Linked DNA regions of Homo sapiens: all the other regions are linked to region 3. The links are contacts of gene promoters, found by promoter capture Hi-C in blood cells and fetal thymus (Javierre and others, 2016). All regions are on one chromosome and are shown on one strand. The core of a region is centred on a gene start or on the middle of the fragment in contact, and the rest is flanking DNA. Distances in the headings are between cores, read along the strand shown.

Region 1 (3,014 bases), core at 236-2,735, 1.2 Mb before region 3:
AAACACATCTCAACACATTTTTAAAATGTCTCTCAAATTTGTCATCTTTTTACATTCCTGCTGTATTGCATATTCTCATTTCCTTTTGTCTGAGCTATCAATAAAATTGGCAGGACAAAGAGTAGGCTATTTCAAATGCCATTCTATCCCTTGGCCAGAATATTTGTTTAATGCCTCCTCTTAGTTCACTGAAGATCTTTTAAGTAGAAAATTGACAAGATCTTTTAAGCACAAAATTTTTAAAAAATTCCTGTTTTTGCAGCCCTAGTCAGGGTACCCCTTTTGGCCATCCACTCTTAGCCAGATGAGCCAGTATTGCACCCTGGATCCTACCTCTTGTTTCTTTTCCTCCAGTTTTGGACTCTTTTCTTCCACTTTTGGATTATTTTCCTTGTTCCAATTCTGTGACTTTCCAGCCATTCAGCTCCATTGGTTTCCATTGCTGAATGGGTCTCAGGAGTTACATAGCAAGGATGGAGGAATATTAAGGACCCACTATAGTTTGCCTCAAATTAGAGTTATCTAAAATATAGTCAGATCTTTGATGCTTTCAGGATTCATATTCTGGTACCATCTAGATTGCTTGGATTTGACTCCAGTTCTCCTAGCTGGGTGACCTTAGCTAAATTATTCAACTTCCTTCTGTAACTTAATTCAGGTAATAGTAGTATCTAACTCTTGAGCTAATGAGGGATTAAATAAAATGATTCTTGTAAAGCACATAGAAATGTGCCTGGCAGATAGTATGTGGTTAATAATGTTGGCTATCATTATTATATATGTTATAAGAGTTTCTATCTCATCTGTGCCTTAAGTTGTATTATCTAAAGCCTCCTTTAGTTATGCTAAACTAAACATGTACCAACCCAGGAAAGGTGCGTGGAAAAGTGGTGAAAAGCTGTCTTATTAACAACAACAGTAACAATATAATAATAAAACAATAACAATAACATATTAGCATTAAGCCAAAGCTTCATTTAAATTATCTCATGTAATACTCAGAAAAATTATATGTGACAAGTACTATTGTTACATCCATTTTACCGATAAGGAAAATAACTCCTATATAATTCTTCTTAAATTGTCCAGATAGTCTGCTTCTAAGAAGTTTCTCTGGAACATGCTAGGCTAACATCTTTTTTTGACATATCTGCATGTGATCTCTGCTGTTGGTAGATTGCTTGGAGATTCCTGCTTCTTTTAGACAAGACCATGACACTCCCTCATTATGCAACCAGTAATAAAGTTTTTTTTTTTTATGTGATCTAAGTGGACTTTTATGACAGGATTTGTTGAAACCCCTAAGATGGCTTTTATTCTGTGCTTTGGGCAGTGGTAAATAGATGGGGTTCAAGAGTCTGGAGCACTCCTTCCCAATAAGAATGTATTTTCCTTACAGGATTGTTCTGCAAAGTCCATTATAAAGAATGATAGCTCACGCCGGGCATGGCGGCTCACACTTGTAATCCCAGCACTTTGGGAGGTCAAGGTGGGTGAATCACTTGAGGCCAGGAGTGCAAGACCATCGAAACCTTGTCTCCACTAAAAAATACAACAATTAGCTGGGTGTGATGGTGCATGCATGTAATCCCAGCTACACAGGAGGCTGAGGAATAAGGATCACTTGAACCTGAGAGGCGATGATTGCAGTGAGCTGAGATGGTGCCACCACGCTCCAGCCTGGGTGAAAGAGCAAGACTCTGTCTCAGAAAAAAAAAAAAAAAAAAAAGAATGATACTTCAAATTTCCACATAGGCATGCAGGTCAGCCATCCTAACTAGGTCTATTCCATATTTACCTAGAAGAGAGGACAAGCACGGAACACTACTATTCCCAACTCAGGTGCCTCATCCCCTAATCAATAAGGTTTCTGCAAACATCCTCAAAATCAGTGGCTTCCAAAGTGGAATATATGCAAAAAACAATCCTTTTGGGAGTATAGGAAGGAATGTTACAACTTCTATTTAATTTATGTTTTAACCTAGGAAAATAAGCTTTACTAAAAAAATGGATTTCAAAAAATGGACTGACATTGCACACTCACACAGTCTCCATGTCAGAAGGTCACGTTCTTACTCATATGTGGAAGTTAAAAAAGTTGATCCCACAGAAGTAAAAAGTACAACAGAGAATACTAGAGGCTGGGAAGGGTAGGCGGAAAGAGAGGACAGAGAGATTTGTTAAAGGAAACAAAATTACAGCTAGATAAGAGTAAGTTCTAGTGTTCTACAGCACTTGTAGGATGACTACATCCTACAAGTTAATAATAGTTTAAAATAGCTAGAATGGGGATATTGAATGTTTGAAACACAAAGAAATTATAAATGTTTAAGATGATAGATAGGCTGATTACCCTGATCTGATCACTATACATTGTATAGACCACAACATCACTATGCACCCTGTAAATATGTACAATTATTATTTGTCAGTTTTAAAAATTTAGAAAAAAAAGGGAGTCATAGGCCATGATTGGTACCCTGAGGAAATGCAAGTCAGCTGTGCCAGATTTACTGGCTCTTTCTCTTTGCAGTACTGTGCTAACAAGAACTTCAGAAAAATTAACATTCTTCCATTCCGTTTTTCAAAAGACACTCATGTTATGGAAGGAGCACGTTTGAATAAACTTTTTTTTTTTTTTGAGATGGAGTCTCGCTCTGTCACCCAGGTTGGAATGCAGTGGCACGATCTCAGCTCACTGCAAGCTCCAGCTCCCGGGTTCATGCCATTCTCCTGCCTCAGCCTCCTGAGTAGCTGGGACTACAGGTGCCCGCCACCACACCCGGCTAATTTTTTGTATTTTTTTTTTTTTTACAGGGTTTCACTGTGTTAGCCAGGATGGTCTCAATCTCCTGACCTCGTCATCCGCCCTCCTCAGCCTCCCAAAGTGCTGGGATTACAGGCATGAGCCACCGCACCTGGCCTGGATAAACTATTTTTTAAAAAAGTCTCATCTGTACAATTGAAAAGTTTGGAAACAGAGTTCTCTAAACTATAATTTTTCTAAATTACAA
Region 2 (3,051 bases), core at 135-2,634, 1.2 Mb before region 3:
ATGGTGATATATACAAAACTACACATGATATACTAGATGAACCATTTAATAATTGTTCTAAGATATTTTTAACTATAAGGAATGATATTAGACTCACACAATTTAAGATGTAGCTCTGCTGTACTTCCTTTAATGCCATCTACTTCCTAAGACACTTCATAAATTTCTGAAGGTTCCAGACTCCCTGGAAGAGAAATGCATTGTCCTAGGCATGCTCTTCTATAAACTGAGAACCATTTCTTATAGTGAAATGTAGTTTGCTTCTGAAGGCTTTGGTGTATTTTAGGAAATTTTTAGCTTATAAAATAATTTGATATACAATTTAATGTTTTATTTGAGAAAATAGGAAATTAGACATTTAGGCATTACTAAAAATGCTGAAATGATTATACCAATACATATTTTAGATATCACTTATTTTTATTTCAAGAGATGCTGAAGTTTCCTGAACTTGAAGTGATTGGCAAATTTTCTAGTCATCTGATACTAAATGACCTGACACTAAGACCAGCTCTAAAAGATGACTGGCAGGATAAATGAAGTAATAAGGATGAATGTTGTGCCTACTAGGTTGTAGGTCTGAAGGATACTTTCACTCACATTTTTTACAAACCTCCTTTCTCAAATAAGCCCTGCTTATTTGATGTTGAGAGCATTTAATCAGATAAATAATCTAACCACTATGTTTGAAATAATTTGTTAAGACCTGAAATGAATTAATTGATTTGATTTTTTTTTGACAGTGCACCCAGAGAAAAGTCTCAGAAAGCTATCCAGGATGAAATCCGTTCAGTGATCAGACAGATCACAGCTACGGTGACATTTCTGCCACTGTTGGAAGTTTCTTGTAAGTATTATACAACTTCTTGTTGAATTAAATTGATTGGCAAAAAGACTAAGCTACTGCCGTAATCACCCCTTTATTAAATTTTGTCTTATTTATCAGATTTATGTAATATAAATTGAAGGAAAAACATTATCATGCAAAAGTAATGTATCGTAGTCTCCCTTTCCACAGGGAGACCCACAGTGAATACCTGAAACCATGGATAGTATGAACCCTATATAATGTTTTTTTCTTATGCATACATACCTATGATAAAATTTAATATGTAAATTAAGCATAGTAAGAGTTAATAATAAACTGGAACAATTATAACAATATGCTGGCATCACTATTCTTGTGCTTTGGGACCATTATTAAATAAGATAAGGGTTACTTGAACACAATCACTAAATTGCACGGAAGTTAGATACAATATTTTCTTTACTGAAATAAATGTTCATTGAGCAAAATAAATTAACTAGTGATTGGAGACCAAGCCAAATGACCTTTTCCAGCAGTGAGTGGTTCAAAATAGAAGAGAGGCAGCAAGATTAGTTTTACTTTTAGAAAATAATATACTTCAATGATCTTATCCCCAATTTAGGTTCATTTGATCTGCTGATTTATACAGACAAAGATTTGGTTGTACCTGAAAAATGGGAAGAGTCGGGACCACAGTTTATTACCAATTCTGAGGAAGTCCGCCTTCGTTCATTTACTACTACAATCCACAAAGTAAATAGCATGGTGGCCTACAAAATTCCTGTCAATGACTGAGGATGACATGAGGAAAATAATGTAATTGTAATTTTGAAATGTGGTTTTCCTGAAATCAAGTCATCTATAGTTGATATGTTTTATTTCATTGGTTAATTTTTACATGGAGAAAACCAAAATGATACTTACTGAACTGTGTGTAATTGTTCCTTTTATTTTTTTGGTACCTATTTGACTTACCATGGAGTTAACATCATGAATTTATTGCACATTGTTCAAAAGGAACCAGGAGGTTTTTTTGTCAACATTGTGATGTATATTCCTTTGAAGATAGTAACTGTAGATGGAAAAACTTGTGCTATAAAGCTAGATGCTTTCCTAAATCAGATGTTTTGGTCAAGTAGTTTGACTCAGTATAGGTAGGGAGATATTTAAGTATAAAATACAACAAAGGAAGTCTAAATATTCAGAATCTTTGTTAAGGTCCTGAAAGTAACTCATAATCTATAAACAATGAAATATTGCTGTATAGCTCCTTTTGACCTTCATTTCATGTATAGTTTTCCCTATTGAATCAGTTTCCAATTATTTGACTTTAATTTATGTAACTTGAACCTATGAAGCAATGGATATTTGTACTGTTTAATGTTCTGTGATACAGAACTCTTAAAAATGTTTTTTCATGTGTTTTATAAAATCAAGTTTTAAGTGAAAGTGAGGAAATAAAGTTAAGTTTGTTTTAAATTTGTCTTAAAACATTTTGATACTGGTTTGGTGTTGATATAGTTAAATGGTAATTAGAATTGATTCAGCATAGCTAATGAATTCTTGTTCCTACGAAGTTATAGAACTTAAGGGTCCAAAGTTGAGTGAGTCTTGAGGTGTCTTCAATCTAATGGATAAACTTTGATCACATCCTGTTCATCTCATAGCAATAGACTTAAGGCTATTACTTCATCATTGTGAAAAGATAAATGTCCTTTGGAATTAGTCCAACAATTCCAGTTGAACAAGTGTTGATTTTAGTACTTTACTATACTCTTAGCCTTATTGTCAGCCTACTTTTCCTTATATACTTAAATACTATGCTTATTCCTGTGCTTTCATTAATACCCTCATCTGGTACATGCTTTCTATCCAGTTCTCACCTGTTTTTCCAAGGTCAGTTTAAGGCAGATTTGTAAAGTCTTCTCTAATCTCTAATCTAAATCTGACCTCATTTTGTAAAAATTCAGTTTATTAATGTTTATTATTAGACACTAAGTTCTTTATGTGTATTAACTTATTTAACCTTCACTATTTTTAAGTAATTGCACATAGTCTGAATCTGTTCATTCAGAAATTACATATTGAGCAAATACTGTGGATCAGTGGCAGTTTCTGGGTTCTCAGTGACAAATTTGTAGACTCTTCATATCTTTATGGAATAAGTGGACCACTGGTGTTACCAACCTAGATGATTTCAAGAAAAGTGGCAATTAAATGCTTCATTTGTATTTTAACTATTT
Region 3 (3,074 bases), core at 434-2,933:
AATTAAAAACTGTTTTAGAATTGAAACCACAAATTGTCCTGGTTTCAGACAAGTTTGGTACCTGAGCAGGAGGTGAGGATGTATTTACAATTCAAAAGTAGTGGTTTTATAGGGGTAACAAGTCAAGCAGGTCATCACATGGTGTGACTGTTTCTGACTTTACTCTCTCCTATCTTTGTATCATAGCTTCACTCGCTCCTTGTAATGTAGCTGTTATATGACAAGTTCTTTCACTGCTTTTACAAGCTGTACTGCTTCAACACCGGCCAAAACTTCCTAAACTTCCACTGAACATTTTCATCACATTGAGAATACAAGAAACAATTTAAAACAAAAATTTCAATGTGGGTTTTCAAACCTGATCAGTGTTGAAGCTGGATGTAGGCCAGATATCTTACCTTAAAATCTTTTTTTCTTTTTCTTGAGACAGGGTCTCACTCTGTTGCCCACGCTGGAACGCAGTGGTGTGATCATAGCTCACTGCCTCCTGGCCTCAAGCAATCCTCCCTGCTTGGCCTCCCAAAGTGCTGGGATAACAGGTGTGAGCCACTGTGCCTTGCCCCATGCCTTAAAAACTTTTAAGAGTGGGATAAATGGACCATATATCTTTACTGCTAAAATGACTTAAAATTCCTGCACAATTCATGTAGCATTTCGGGAGTAGCAACATCCCCATGTACGTTTTTACCTAGGCAGTTCATCAGTAAAGGTATTTGTCAAGTGGCTTTCTTGTAGCCGGGAAGAAAGTGCATGTTAAAAACAACAACACCGGGCTGGTTTTTACTTTGTAAGTTTGAGCAAAGTGGTAGCTATACCAAACCTGGGAGTGGCTGAATGTCTTTCTATTTAGCAGTGAAAGATGATAGGAAACCAGCCAGATGGTCCTGATTTTAGGGTGAGATAGAGAGGTAAGCTCCAGATCTCATATAGGTTGCCTTTATTTCTGAGCTGTTTCTCACAGGACGGTGAGCTAAACGCTGGGTGCTTTTCCATGCAGAGATTCCTGTTTGGGGCTGGGATCAGCCATCCTACTTCACAAACAAGGAATATGCGGAAGAAGGAGTATACACAACGCTAACAACCCCAATATCAATGGAAACCCCACTTCCCACACTTTTCCTTTGGGACATCTCCCCCACCCCCCACTCCTCCCGCGTTACACGTTGCCAGGCTGCTTTGGGCGTTCCTTCCTCTGTAGTGCATTGCACGGGTACGTCATCAAATGTGCGTGTACACGTGCCAGATTCGCCTTTAAACGGTAATCTCCCCTAGGTCCAGATCGTGTACTTTCCCGTATGTAACGGTAGTGCAGTACCTGAACTATTAGTTATTTAAGTAATACGTAATGAATGAAGAGCTGAAACTGCAACCTGTTGATGGAAGAATGAATGAACGCGCTCCCCTCCTTCCTGCGGGGCTGCGCCGAGAAAATACGGTTCTGATTTAGCCACGACGTTAAAGGCTTTGACCTGTAGGGGGAGGGGAAAGAAAAGACGGGAAAAAGAAAACCAAAAAACAAAAAACCGGAAAAAGGGAAAAAGCGAAAAGGGGGAGGTCGCTCGGCCGCTCGCAGGCTCAGCCCGGTGGCCCCGCCCCGCGGCGGCCGGTGGCTGTGCGCGTGCGCAGGCGGGAGCGCGGCGGCTGGTCCAAGCCCGGCGCTGGGGGCGCGCAGCCGAGAAAGGGTTTGACGTGGCAGTTCCCAGCCCAGCTGCAACTCCGAGCGTGAGTCCAGGCTAAGGGGACGCCGGCCGGGGAAGAGGCGCGGCGGGAGAAGCGACCGCAGCGGGAGCCCGGCCACCGAGGGCTGCCGGCACTAGGCGCAGAGCCGCCAGCGCTCGGAAGCCCGCGGGGTGCGGGAGCGGGAACAGGTAAAGCCTCCCACCCGCGGACGCCTTCATGCGGGACAGCCCTGCCCAGGCACAGCGGAGCGGGTTGCGGCGCCCGGCCCGGGGACGCGGCGGGAGGCCGGGTGCTCACCTGAGGCAGTGGCGGCGGGAGGAGAACTCATTCTTTGTTCTTTAGCCTTCTAGTGCAGTTTAATAGTGGGGCCGGCGGGATGGGGGAGCAGGAGGTGGGCGTGGGCATTTTTTACCCGCCCCCACCTTTTGCCTTGGGATGCAGGAACTGCCTTGTTAGGATCCTCAGTGGCCACCATTCGAGTGTCATTGCCAGCGGTTTTCTCATCTCCTTATCAACTTAATTTCCTTTTTTGAAGGAAGGAAATGTTAGAAATATTCATGGTAAAAATGGCAACTATATCTTGAAGCCTCGGGACATCCGAATAGTGAAACTGATCTGGCCAAATACGAACTTGTTCCAGGGTTAGAAGTGCACCTTGGCTAGAGTTGCTGGGTGACAGTGAGCCAGGGGGCCGTTCTGGGGTTGGGGCTCCCCAGATTTTGATCCTAGGCCTGCTTATACCAAGTGGCTTTCTGCCGTGTCGCCGCTTGAAGCTGAGTCAGGTTTCTTTAACTTGGTGCTCTGTGTGAGGAAGTTTGACGTGGCAAACTGGGTTGCGTGAGGAAGCTGATTCCTCTGAGGACCAGTTCAGAGGGAACTGGCTGCTTCCTGTTCTTTGGAGTGACCATCTCAGCCTCTCTTTTCTGTCACTCAGCAACAGGCTGCTACTTAGGTGTGTTCGTGCCGACTTCCTAAGTGCTCTTGGTTGGATGAGCTTGACCAGCGCTCAGGCTGCCACGTCTCTCTCTGCTAAGTGGGAGGAGGAAAAAGGGGTTGTCAGAAACAAAGTGGACCAGAAGGCCTTTGCCTGCCTCTCTCCTCTTTTTCAGTTCTCCCCTTCCCAGGAGAAGGAAATGATCTCATAATATTTTTACATGGTTGCTTTTATTTTGGAAACTTATAGTTTAATATGGAAACAAAATCAAATCACAAATTTTAGGCTTCAAATTTTTAATTTGAAATGTTATTTCTTGAATATAGACAGATTCTAAGTCTTAGCAGGTATCACTGATCTCTTATCTTAAATTGTAGCAAATAAAAGAACAAAAGGAAGAATATGCTTGTATGGGGCAAATAAACTGGAGATAAATTGTAGAATCAGTGGAAATCTGGAA

What was found. The method cuts DNA at HindIII sites, captures the fragments that hold promoters and counts their contacts. A CHiCAGO score of 5 or more calls a contact.
Region 1: a contact is called between a fragment that was not itself captured here and the fragment with the promoter of SEC24D in region 3, in 6 of 17 cell types (total B cells, naive B cells, total CD8 T cells and 3 more). The highest score is 14.5, in total B cells.
Region 2: a contact is called between a fragment that was not itself captured here and the fragment with the promoter of SEC24D in region 3, in 10 of 17 cell types (naive CD8 T cells, naive B cells, total B cells and 7 more). The highest score is 11.0, in naive CD8 T cells.

The regions. Positions count from the first base shown.
Region 1 is chr4:120,075,441-120,078,454 of GRCh38, reverse strand. All of the region lies in intron 1 of MAD2L1-DT (MAD2L1 divergent transcript), which reads right to left. Among named protein-coding and RNA genes, the nearest start is that of MAD2L1-DT, 10 kb to the right of the region's middle. The HindIII fragment of the contact is 1,023 bases long and covers 974-1,996 here.
Region 2 is chr4:120,058,670-120,061,720 of GRCh38, reverse strand. It overlaps MAD2L1 (mitotic arrest deficient 2 like 1), which reads left to right. Exons shown (of 5, transcript NM_002358.4): 4 at 744-847; 5 at 1,431-3,051. The coding sequence ends at 1,603. Among named protein-coding and RNA genes, the nearest start is that of MAD2L1, 6.7 kb to the left of the region's middle. The HindIII fragment of the contact is 5,099 bases long and covers 1-3,051 here.
Region 3 is chr4:118,834,735-118,837,808 of GRCh38, reverse strand. SEC24D (SEC24 homolog D, COPII component) reads left to right here and starts at 1,683. Exons shown (of 23, transcript NM_014822.4): 1 at 1,683-1,868. RefSeq lists enhancers at 1,521-1,815, 1,436-2,327 and a silencer at 1,520-2,009. The HindIII fragment of the contact is 6,235 bases long and covers 1-3,074 here.